Linked DNA regions of Homo sapiens: all the other regions are linked to region 1. The links are contacts of gene promoters, found by promoter capture Hi-C in blood cells and fetal thymus (Javierre and others, 2016). All regions are on one chromosome and are shown on one strand. The core of a region is centred on a gene start or on the middle of the fragment in contact, and the rest is flanking DNA. Distances in the headings are between cores, read along the strand shown. Region 1 holds the start of RBM41 (RNA binding motif protein 41). Region 2 has its middle 43 kb from the start of PRPS1. Region 3 overlaps PRPS1 (phosphoribosyl pyrophosphate synthetase 1).

Region 1 (3,846 bases), core at 1,347-3,846:
TTACAGTTATACACAGGTATGTAGAGTACTTCTTATGACCTTGCTTTCCAGTTGCAATTCCACAGCTATGTGAATATGTATCTTAGCTATTCGTTCTCCACTCATCCCACCTAGTGGATTTGCAATGTAGTGTGTATCATTTCAGTATCAATAGGCTATATGTTTTATTAGAAGTTGTACACAAGTTTGGTGTGATGGTTGGTGTAATATTTGTTCCATCCTTTGCCACCGTCCCAGGGGATAAGCACACTAGCAACCTTGGTGTATTTTTCCATTTCCTTGTCAATATGTCAATTGGGACAGATTGGTTGAGCCACAAAATTCAGCTCTACCACCATATAGGATTTACCTGGTGCAGGCAATGATGTGACCCCCCGTTTTGTTTATACTTATATTCAGTTCACGTTCTGTGCCAAAGCTACAAAGTGGTACATGCTATGCCTGCAGTCATTCACCTTTATGATTCAAGAGCACAGTTATTTGCATGTGACAGGTCTTAGGTAGCTCACCATGACATTTTCAATCTGATAGAAGTTCTCAGGACAGGAAATTCTACAATGTTTTTCAGTAGCTGCTTTTTGGTCCTTTGCTCTAACTTGAGCATGGAAATACAAAGCAGTTTGGATAAGTCTAAATCTACTGATTAACATTTGACTATTTACTCATAGATTACCACTCAATCATGGAATAACTTTAAAACCATACCTTTGTATGTGCTTGACAGTCACCCTATACTTAGGAGGTATCCTCATTTTACAGATGAGAAAACTGGCCTAGACCAGTTAAGAAACTTACTGAAACCCACATGGTCTAGTAACTTACCAGAGCAAAAATTCAAGTCCAGATTGCCTCTAAAACCCTGTCGTGCTATACTGTCAACTGAGAAGTGAGATTCAAATCCAAGTAGTGTGCCCCGCCCCCCACCATTACCTACAATCTTTTCTTCTTTGGCTTCTTGAGATGTAAGAGGGTTTCTCTTTAATTAAAAAAGTATTGACTAGGTAATGTAGTCATGGGTTCAAAATTCAAAGGGCACAAAAAGATACGTGAAGAATTTTTTCTGCCCTTGTCCCTCAGCCATCCAGTTCCCCTACCTGGAGGCATTCACTCATCATTTGTCTGTAAGTTCTCCCAAACATATTTTGTGCATATACAAGCAAACACACATATATATGTTTTTAAGTGACTAGAGCTCCCCTTTTTATGCAAATAGAAGCATAGTATACATATCGTTCTGCACCTTGCTATTGCACTAACTATATTTTGGAGATTGTTTAGTAGCAGTTCATAGAGAACTTTGTCATCTTGGTAACTGCTGCATAGTTTTTCATTGAATGATACATTTTCATAGTATGTTCTTGGATATTTTCATTTCTGTTTTCATAAACAATGTTGCAAGGAATGATAGTAGGTTAGAGGATATATAGTATTGAGGATTCTATTCATAACTGAATTGCTGCTTTAAAGGGAATGTACATTTATGATTTTAGTAGTATCCTCATTTGCCCCCAATAGATGTTGTACCAATTTATATTCCTACCACTAGTGTATTGAGAGCGCCCGTTTCCCCACAATCTCAATAAAACAAGTGTGTTATCAAACTTTTGGATCTTTCCCAATCTGTTAGGTGAAAAATGGTAGTTTAATGTACTTTTAAAAATAAACTTTAAGTTCTAGAACAGTTTTAGATACAGAAAGGTTGCATAGTACAAAGTTCCACATACGTACAACTCAGTTTCCCTTGCATAACTCTGATACATTTGTCACAGCTAACGAACCTTGTTATTAGCTAAAGAGCATAGTTTGTTCACATTTCCTTAGTTTTTACCTCATGTCTTTTTTTCTTTTCCAGGATCCCATCCAAGATACTGCATTACTTTAGTCATCATGACTCCTTTGGTTCCTTTTGGCTGTGACAGATTCTTGTGTTTTTGATGACCTTGCTAGTTTTAAGGAGTACTGGTAGTCAGTGTACTTTAAAATTTGTGAGATTGGACATCTTTTCATACACTTAAAGACATTTGCATTTCCATTTCTGGAAACTAAGAGCCTATGCTTTTAACCACTATACTATACCTCTTTCTTGATTCACCATAATTATCAATAAAACATATGTGGGCCTGAACATACACAGACTTCTGATTCTGAGTGGAGAAAACTCTCAAGTCTCTGTTACAGATAGAGGAGAACCATTAGTACAGGTGATATAGTCAGACTCGTGTCTGATGACTCTGGCTACATCGTGAAGGATGAAGCAGAGGCTCGACTGGAAACGGTAGGTAGGCTGGATAAATCCTTGAAAGAAAAGCAGTGTTGATAAGTTCAAAGGAAATTACAGAAGAGCCAGGAATTAGTGGTAATGGATGAGAGAATCAAGAAGTCAAAGGTGACTCGTTTTATGAGCTGGATATTTTGGGTCTTCTTTTGAACCTAAATGAGAAATTCAAAATAAATATTTGGACAATGTTCAGCATACCTGTCACTTGAGATCTACTTTCTCTTTCTGTTGCCATAGCTCTGTGCTACTACAATTCCCAGAGCCCCATGCTCCATCACAATACCCTTAGAAGTCCGCCGCGCGGAGTTCTGGGACTTGAGGTCCGCGGCCTATTTACCCAAGTTGGAGGTAGGGGCCTGTGGAAACATGAAGAGGTAAGGACTTGTCTGAAGAGCAGGCGGCAAGGGGAGCTTTGTTCTACCTTTTCTTTTGAAAATGGCTTCCATTGCTTTCTGGTTTGGGTATTGCACGTTCTCAGGATGCGGTTTCGTGGGAGCGGGAACACGACAAAGGAGACGGGAGGAGGGGAGACGGGCTGAACAGGCCTGCAGAGCGAAGTTCAGGAAGGGCTGCCACCGGGGCCGGCTGCTGTGGGAATGCCCTCCCGGCACGGGCCCCGGGAGCTGGCCGGGTGCTGCGGCTTCGTCGTTTCACCCGGACCCAGCTGGGCAAAAGGGTTTGAGGCTGACAAATTCCCGGCGCCGGAGATGTAGGTACCTCGGGCCAGCCCCTCGCCGTTCTCCCCTACCTCCACCTCCACCTGAGAAAGGCTCGGGGCGGGCGCATTTATTTGCAACGTCTGTGTGTTAAAGACTACTTGCTTGGGCCCCGAAACCATGTAGCGCTTTCGAATCTTAAAGTAAGGGAGCGGTACTTTGTTTCTAAATGTGGAAGGACAGCACCAAAGCGGTTCGATTTATGGGGTGGGGGGAGGGGAGGTGGAAGGCATTGCTGGGCTCAGTTCCCCTTACTTGTCCTGAGGTAAATGGCCGCTTGAGCCTAAATGGCCTGAGCCTCCTAACTATTGACGGGCTTAAATTAATTTTAGATTCACTCTGCAAGTAGAATCATCACTCTGGAATAGTGCAGTGCATTTAAAATTCTTACTGATATGCTTTCCTGCACTGTCAGTTCCTTGCATCTTTTAAAAAACCGTTTATGACTTTGCCTGCCTGAAACTAACCTTTAATATTTTTTTATGATATCTCCTCCATGCGAAATAATGTATAATGTATATATACAGCTTAAAGAATAATAAAGGTTCGCATCCACTACAAGCTTAAGAAATAGGACATTGCCAGTCCCTTAGAAGTCTACTGTGTCTCTTCCCTCCCTTCGTTCCCCCCTGAGGTGACCACTATCCGGAATTTTGTGTTATTAATTCCCTTGCTTTTAAAAAAGCAAATAGTTTCTAGTACATATGAATTTATCCCTAAACAAAATGTTCCTAGTCATGTATTTGAAGTATTCCTGATACTTCATGCTGGCGTTTCTATTGTAAAAGCTACTAGACTCAATGTGGCTAAAACAATACTGACTTTCCCTTTCCCAAATCATTTATTCCATCT
Region 2 (3,846 bases), core at 384-2,883, 550 kb before region 1:
CAATCCTGAAAACTGGATACCTTCTATCAGTTTTTTCACTGGAGAATAGGCTAGCTAACTTGGACCTCAGAGGAGAGGACAGCTCCCTGGAGAATCTGGAAGAGGCAGGAGCGAAATTTGCTCAGTTGCAGGGATTCCCCAGGACTCCCTGGGAGTCAGGCCACACCCAGTTGCTTCTGCTGGGCTGGCGGTCTGTCTGCTCTGGAGTGGGGTGGGGTGGTGAGGTGCACACCACACACACACACACACACGCACGCACGCACGCACGCACACACGGAGGGAGGGGGGAAAGGGAGATGGGGTAGGTGAGGAAACTCACCGTCCCAGAGCTCTCTTGCCCCCTCTTCAGGCAATAAGCTCTCACTGCTGTTCCTGTCCAGGTGACCAATTTTTGCCATAGGAGGCCCTATTTTTAGACCTCAAAACCCACCACCAATGTCTGGGCTGCAAGCTCAGTGGACCAGGCTGCTGCACGGGCTGTTTTGTTTTTGTTTTCGTGGTGTTTTAAAATTTTTTACCATTTGAATCTCTTTTTTTTTTTTTTGAGATGGAGTCTCTTTCTGTCACCAGGCTGCAGTGCAGTGGCACGATCTTGGCTCACTGCAACCTCCACCTCCTGGGTTCAAGTGATTCTCCTGCCTGCCTCAGCCTCCCAAGCAGCTGGGACTACAGGCGCATGCCACCATGCCTAGCTTTTTTTTTTTTTTTTTTTTTTTTTGAGACAGAGTCTCACTCTGTTGCCCAGGCTGGAGTGCAGTGGCACGACTTCAGCTCACTGCAAGCTCCCCCTCCCAGGTTCATGCCATTCTCCTGCCTCAGCCTCCCAACTAGCTGGGACTACAGGCACCCGCCACCACGCCCAGCTAATTTTTTTTTTTTTTTTGTATTTTTAGTAGAGACGGGGTTTCACCGTGTTAGCCAGGATGGTCTTGATCTCCTGACCTCATGATCCGCCCCCCTCAGCCTCCCAAAGTGCTGGGATAACAGGCGTGAGCCACCGCGCCCAGCCTAAAAATTTTTGCCATTTGAATCATTTTTAAGTGCATAATTCAGTGACAATAAGTACATTTACATTATTCTGCAACAATTACCACTCTCCACCTCCAGAACTCTTTTCATGTTGCAAAACTCCATACCCATTAAACAATAATCCCCCCCACAAACCCGCCCCCAGAGTGAGGGTAGAGAATATACCCATTCTCCCCTCCCCCTAGCCCCTAGTAATCACCATTCTATGTTCTGTCTCTTATGAATTTGACTATTCTAGGTCCCTAATATAAGCAGAATCATGCAATATTTGTCCTTTTGTGTCTGGCTTATTCAGTTAGCATAATCTTCATGTTGTAGCATGTGCCAGAGTTTCTTTCCTTTTAAGGCTGAGTAATTGTCTACTGTATGGATATACCACATTTTGTTTATCCATTCATCCATTGATAGACACTTAAGGGTTGTTTCTACCTTTGGACTATTGTGAAGAATGCTGCTGTAAACACATTGGTGTACAAGTATCTGTCCGAGCCTCTGCTTTCAATTCTTTGGGGTATATACCTAGGAGTGGCTGTTGGGGCCGTTTGCCCATTCCCGAGGCAGCCTAGTGGTCTGGCCCCCCTCAGAAGAAAGTTGCCTTCCCAGCTTTCTGCCCCAGCTCTGCTTTGTCTCTGTGCACACAACAGCACCTCTTGGAAAAGCACCTTCTTTCACCCCACCCTACCCCCCGACCCCGTCACCAATGAGTCCCAGCACCAACTGAGTGGTGACTGGTGACTGGTGAGCCTCTCTGGGCTTCCTGTTCTATTTTTCTACCCAGTGTACTTATGGTCACATTCCCTCCCCTTGAAGACCATGTCAGTCTCTGGTTGCCCTCTTGTCAGCTCCCCAAGAGCCAGGACCACAGCCGCAATGGACTTTTAAAAGTGGGAGACAGGGCCGGGCGCTGTGGCTCACGCCTGTAATCCTAGCACTTTGGGAGGCCGAGGCGAGCTGATCACCTGAAGTCAGGAGTTTGAGACCAGCCTGGCCAACATGGTGAAACTCCATCTCTACTAAATATACAAAAATTAGCTGGGCGTGGTGGCGTGTGCCTATAATCACAGCTACCTGGGAGGCTGAGGCAGGAGAATCACTGGAACGTGGGAGGCAGAGGCTGCAGTGAGCCAAGATCATGCCACTGCACTCCAGCCTGGATGACAGAGCAAGACTCCATCTCAAAAAACAAACAAACAAAAAACTGGGAGACAGTGTGGTACAGCAGTTAAGGGCAGGGGCTCTGGAGCCAGACTGCAAGGGTTTGAATGCTGCCTTGTCTAACACCAGGCAAGCTACTTGACCTTGCCATGCCTGTGTCTCCATCTGTAAAATGGGGATAATAATAATATTTATCTCAAGTGGTTATTAGGAATTAACTGATATACACAAAGCCATCAATGCAGTACCTGGTACATAGTAACGGCTAAATAGCCAGACACAGGCACAGTGGCTCATTCCTGTAATCCCAGCACTTTGGGAGGCCGAGGCAGGTGGATCACTTGAGGTCAGGAGTTCAAGACCAGCCTGGCCAACATGGTGAAACCCTGTCTCTACTAAAAATACAAAAATTAGCCGGGCGTGGTGCTGCGCACCTGTAATCCCAGCTACTCGGGTGGCTGAGGCAGGAGAATCACTTGAACCCAGGAGGCGGAGGCTGCAGTGAGCCCAGATCGCGCCACTGCACTCTAGCCTGGGTGACAGAGCAAGACCTTGTCTCAAAAAATTAATAGCCTAAATAAATGGCAGCTGTTATTTGTTAAGTCCTCTTTCCCTTGCTGCTTCTTTGACAAAAAACATGAGGTAGATAGTGGGAGCCACCTCAGCATGTTTTTCAGGGAGGATTGCTGATGAATTTGCAGACTTCCCTCCCCACTACCCCCCTTCTCCCTGTTGATAGTCTTCTTGGGTCATTGCCCCTCCACCTGTGTGAAATGCTTTTATGAAGTTAGTGTAAACAATATAAAGAATACAATGTTTGTTTTCTTCACTCTGCAGCTCCACACATTGTAGTGATCGTGTGCTCATTACCTGGAGGTCCTGTTGTGCTCCCACTCAGGCCAAATATGGTTCAAGAAGGCTGCCAACACCAGCTGGCTTTGAGAAGCCTGTCTTTCCCTTCAGGAACTTGCTAAGTTCAGAAGGGATACATTGTTTATATCTTTCAGGGTGGGAAAGAAGAAGCCAGGCTCAGTGTATTTCTTTCTTATCAGTAAAGATAGCCATATCTAGTTTGTCCTGTTGGTTAAAGTACCATATTAATAGGGTCTATTAATAGGGTCAAGTTCATCACTTCAGTCTACTGGGCCATTCTCCAAACGTTGATTGGGCACCTGTTACAAACCAAGCACTGTGGCATACAGAGATAAACAAAATAAGATAGCTGTCCTCGAGGCACCCAGGCCAAAATAATGCAATTCTCTGAGCACTCTGAGTTTGAAAAAGCCTCCCACTGGCCAGGCGCAGTGGCTCACGCCTGTAATCCCAGCACTTTAGGAGGCCAAGGTGGGTGGATCACCTGAGGTCAGGAGTTCATGACCAGCCTGGGCAACATGGTGAAATCCCATCTGTACTAAAATACAAAAATTAGCTGGGTGTGGTGGCTGGCACCTTTAATCCCAGCTACTCAGGAGGCTGAGGCAGGAGAATCACTTGAACCCGGGAGGTGGAGGTTGCAGTGAGCAGAGATCGCGCCATTGCACTCCAGCCTGGGTGACAAGAGCGAAACGCCATCTCAAAAAAAAAGGAGGAGGAGGAGGGGGAAGGGGGATGGGGGAGGAGGAAGGAGGAAGGAGGAGGAGCAGCCACCTCCCACCACCACGC
Region 3 (3,846 bases), core at 1-2,500, 530 kb before region 1:
AGATAATGCAGGTAGGAGGTCCCAGCAGTTAATCTCAATCCGTCTTTCCCCAGTTCGGATAAGCTCTAATATACCTGATGTGGGATGTAGAAAGCTACACTGGAGCAAGCCGGGTCTTCTGCTGAATTTGTCATCAAATACCAAGGGGAAACAAGGGTGGGGTGGATTTTATTCTCAAAAAGCCTCAGAAGTTACTCTATTATAAAGGGACATGGCTGAATAGGTAAGAAACGGATTCTCCATTGTGAGTTCTCCTGATGGCTTCTGCAAGGATCATAGAGATGTCAATCACCTAGAAAGGCAAGAAAGGAAATCAGGTTACTATCATATGGTCAGAGATGACTGGCCAATTTGCAGACACTGATGAGCAGCCAGGCAAGTGCCCTTCCTCTTAAAACTGCAACACTGTGCTGTTTCCCTGTCATGAGGCTGCACTCAGCTATTCTTCATAACATTTTTAAGATAGCCACTTACGGCTGGGCACGGTGGCTCACACCTGTTAATCCCTGCACTTTGGGAGGCCAAGGTGGGCAGATCACTTGAGGCCAGGAGTTGGAGACCAGGCTGGCCAACATGATGAAACCCCGTCTCTACTAAAAATACAAAAATTAACCAAGCATGGTGTGGCACACGCCTGTAATCCCAGCTACTCGGGAGGCTGAGGCATGAGAATTGCTTGAACCTGGGAGGTGGAGGTTGCGGTGAGCCAAGATCGTGCCACTGCACTCCAGCCTGGGTGACAGAGCGAGACTCTGTCTCAAAACAACAAAACAAAACAAAACAGCCACTTAGGAAAGAGTCAAAATGCTAACTGAGAAAAAACGCTGACTTTGGTTCATCAAAATGGCTGGGCACTGTGGCTCACACCTGTAATCCCAGCACTTTGGGAGGCCAAGGTGGGAGGATCACTTGAGCCCAGGAGTTTGAGTCCAGCCTGGGCAATATGGTGAAACTCTGTCTCTACAATAAAACAAAAATTAGCCAGGCGTGGTTGTGGTGTATGCCTGTAGTCCCAGCTACTTGTGAGGCTAAGGCAGGAGGATCGCTTGAGCCTGGGAGTTTGAGGCTGCAGTGAGTCAAGATCAGGCCACTGCACTCCAGCTTAGGCAACAGAGTGAGACCCTGTCTAAAAAAAAATGGTGGTAGGTTCGCATTTAAAAATCCTTCTGAATAGGCTGGGCGTGGTGGCTCATGCCTGTAATCCCAGCAGTTTGGGAGGCCGAGGTGGACGGATCACCTGAGGTCAGGAGTTCAAGACCAGCCTGAGCAACATGGAGAAACCCCATCTCTACTAAAAATAAAAAATTAGTCAGGCGTGGTGGCACATGCCTGTAATCCCAGCTACTTGGGAGGCTGAGGCAGGAGACTCACTTGAACCTGGGAGGCTGAGGTTGCGGTGAGCTGAGATCGTGCCATTGCACTCCAGCCTAGGCAACAAGAGCAAAACTCCATCTCAAAAACAAAAAACAAACAAACAAAAAAACCTTATGAAGGAAAAAAAAAAGACTAAGTTGAAAAAAAATCCTTAAGAATGACATCACCTGTAATCTCAGCACTTTGGGAGGCTGACACAGGAGGATAGCTTGAGGCTAGGAGTTTGAGACCAGCCTGGGCAACATAGGGAGACCCCGTCTCTACACATAATATCAAAAAAATTAGCTGGGCATGGTGGTGCACGCCAGCCACTTGGGAGGCTGAGACAGGATGATTGCCTGAGCCTTCAAAGTTGAGGCTGCAGTGAGCTTTGATTGCGCACTCCGGCTGGGGCAACAGAGCAAGATCCTATCTCAAAAAAAAAAAAAAAAAAGATGATAATCCTCCAATTACACATATTAATTTCAAAAAGCTCATAGATTAATGTGAACATTTTTAATTAAGCAAGGCCTTGTTCTTTTAGTGCAAGAGCACTCAAACTTTAGTTTCTAACAATTACTTGGGGAATTACTTTAAAATACTGGTTCCAGGACCTCTGGTTTTATAGGTCTTAGATGGAGCAAAGGAATCTACATTTTAATAAGAACCTTAGGTCCAGAGCACACTGAGAAACACTAAAGTTGGTAGAAGTGTACAATCAGTTTAAAGGTTTCACATTATATCTACAGGGGCCGATAGTTAACAGACAAACACATACTGTAAAGTATGGACTTGAAAACTTTAATTTGCATCAGAATCACTGGGAGAACCTGTTAAAATGTAGAATCTTAGGCTCCATCTTCCAGAGATTCTGAGGTGTAGCAATTTAAACTTTTAAACAGGTGATTTTCCCAAGGCTTGGCAGTTTGAAAAGAAAAAAAAAAAGGAAAAGAAACAGGTGATTGTTAACTTTTGGATCACAAATTCTGATGACAAGACTAAATCCTTCAGACCAAAGAAAGATATCTTCAGAATCCAGAGACCTAATTCAACGTAAGTAACCACCTCCTAAACACTTAGAAAAGTCTTGTTTTGCACAAATCTCATCCTCACCTGTATTTTGGAGCAATGCTTCATCTTGTCCTCCTGAGGTATGGTATTGGTGACTACTACTGCCTCAAAGCATGCGTTGTTGATGCGAGAAATAGCAGGACCGGAGAAGATTCCATGAGTCAAGATGGCATAAACTCTGGTGGCGCCAGCTGAGAGAAGTCTAGAGGGAAAAAATGTTGATTTGGATTCATCTTACTTGTCATTGCAGAATTTTAGTCAGGGAGGAGTATATTAGCCTGCTTAGGCTTCCACAACAAAATATCATATGAAAAAAAATAAAAAAATAAAAAATATTATAAGGCACAGTGGGTTAGGGGAAAAATTTTTTTAAGGAAAAGAAAATACCATAGAATGGGTGGCTTAAATAACAGAAACAAATTTTTCACAGTTCTGGAGGCTTAAAGTCCAAGATCAAGGTGCAGACAAAGTAGGTGTCATGCTGAGGCCTCTTCTCTTGTAGGTGGCCACCACTTTGCTGTGTGCTCAGATGACCTCTTTGTGTGTGAGTGTGAGTGTGTGTGCACGCATGCGTGCGCATGGGGAAATGCTGGCCAGTTCTCCAGCATTCTCTTCTTATAAGGGCATTCATCCCATTGTAAGGGCTCTGCCCTAGTGACCTCATCTAATCCTAAATACGTGCCCCTCAAGGTAACTCCAAATACCATCACATTGGGGTTAGGCCTCAACATATATGAATTTGGGGAGGACACAATTCAGTCCATATCGAGAAAGAACTGCACTAAGAACTTATCTGAATAGGTCTGAATTAGTGTCAAAGGACTCTGGCATAGACTGTTGCACTTAACAAAATCCACTTCCTCTTCTTTCTGGGCACATAGCTGAACTACATTTCCCAGCCTCCCTCACATAGTTCAGTGTGGCCATGTGGCTTAATTCTGGCTATTAAAATGTGGGCAGACACAATGTACATCAGTTTTTGGTTGGACTTAACAAAAATCTTCCAGGGGTGATCCTCTGTGTTCTTTTCCTTTTCTGGCTGGCCAAAATTGAAATGTCTTCCAAGGTAATCTTGGAAACCCCATGTTAAAGATATAGCACCAAAGATTGAAAGAATCTGAGCTCCTAACTATTGCTTAGAAAAAATGAGTCCAACAAGAACACTTGCATTGGAGTGTGCCATGGACAAGAAGGAAACTATCATGTTAGGGAGTTGATCTGTTATAGCGACTAGTATTCCCGTACTTGTACAAGGATGAAATGGGTTTTATGAATGTTTACTCCAGGATCCCAAACCAAGAATCATTCACCCCAATTTTTTTTTAGCACCTATTATGTGCCAGGCACTGTGCAAGGCACAGACACAAGAAAGTTTAAAAAAACCATTCTCAGGGCTGGGTGCTGTGGCTCACAGCTGAAATC

What was found. Contacts are between HindIII fragments. The CHiCAGO score rates a contact against its expected background, and 5 or more counts as called.
Region 2: a contact is called between a fragment that was not itself captured here and the fragment with the promoter of RBM41 in region 1, in 1 of 17 cell types (monocytes). The highest score is 7.6, in monocytes.
Region 3: a fragment that was not itself captured here is called in contact with the fragment with the promoter of RBM41 in region 1 in 1 of 17 cell types (total B cells); the score reaches 5.7 in total B cells.

What each region holds. Positions count from the first base shown.
Region 1 is chrX:107,117,572-107,121,417 of GRCh38, reverse strand. It overlaps RBM41 (RNA binding motif protein 41), which reads left to right and starts at 2,596. Exons shown (of 8, transcript NM_001324242.2): 1 at 2,596-2,652. The coding sequence starts at 2,645. RefSeq lists enhancers at 2,643-2,832, 3,213-3,292. The HindIII fragment of the contact is 8,519 bases long and covers 1-3,558 here.
Region 2 is chrX:107,669,552-107,673,397 of GRCh38, reverse strand. No RefSeq gene overlaps it. Among named protein-coding and RNA genes, the nearest start is that of PRPS1, 43 kb to the right of the region's middle. RefSeq lists a silencer at 211-260. The HindIII fragment of the contact is 4,714 bases long and covers 1-3,846 here.
Region 3 is chrX:107,646,386-107,650,231 of GRCh38, reverse strand. It overlaps PRPS1 (phosphoribosyl pyrophosphate synthetase 1), which reads right to left. Exons shown (of 7, transcript NM_002764.4): 6 at 2,467-2,626; 7 at 1-292. The coding sequence ends at 200. Among named protein-coding and RNA genes, the nearest start is that of PRPS1, 20 kb to the right of the region's middle. The HindIII fragment of the contact is 8,666 bases long and covers 1-3,846 here.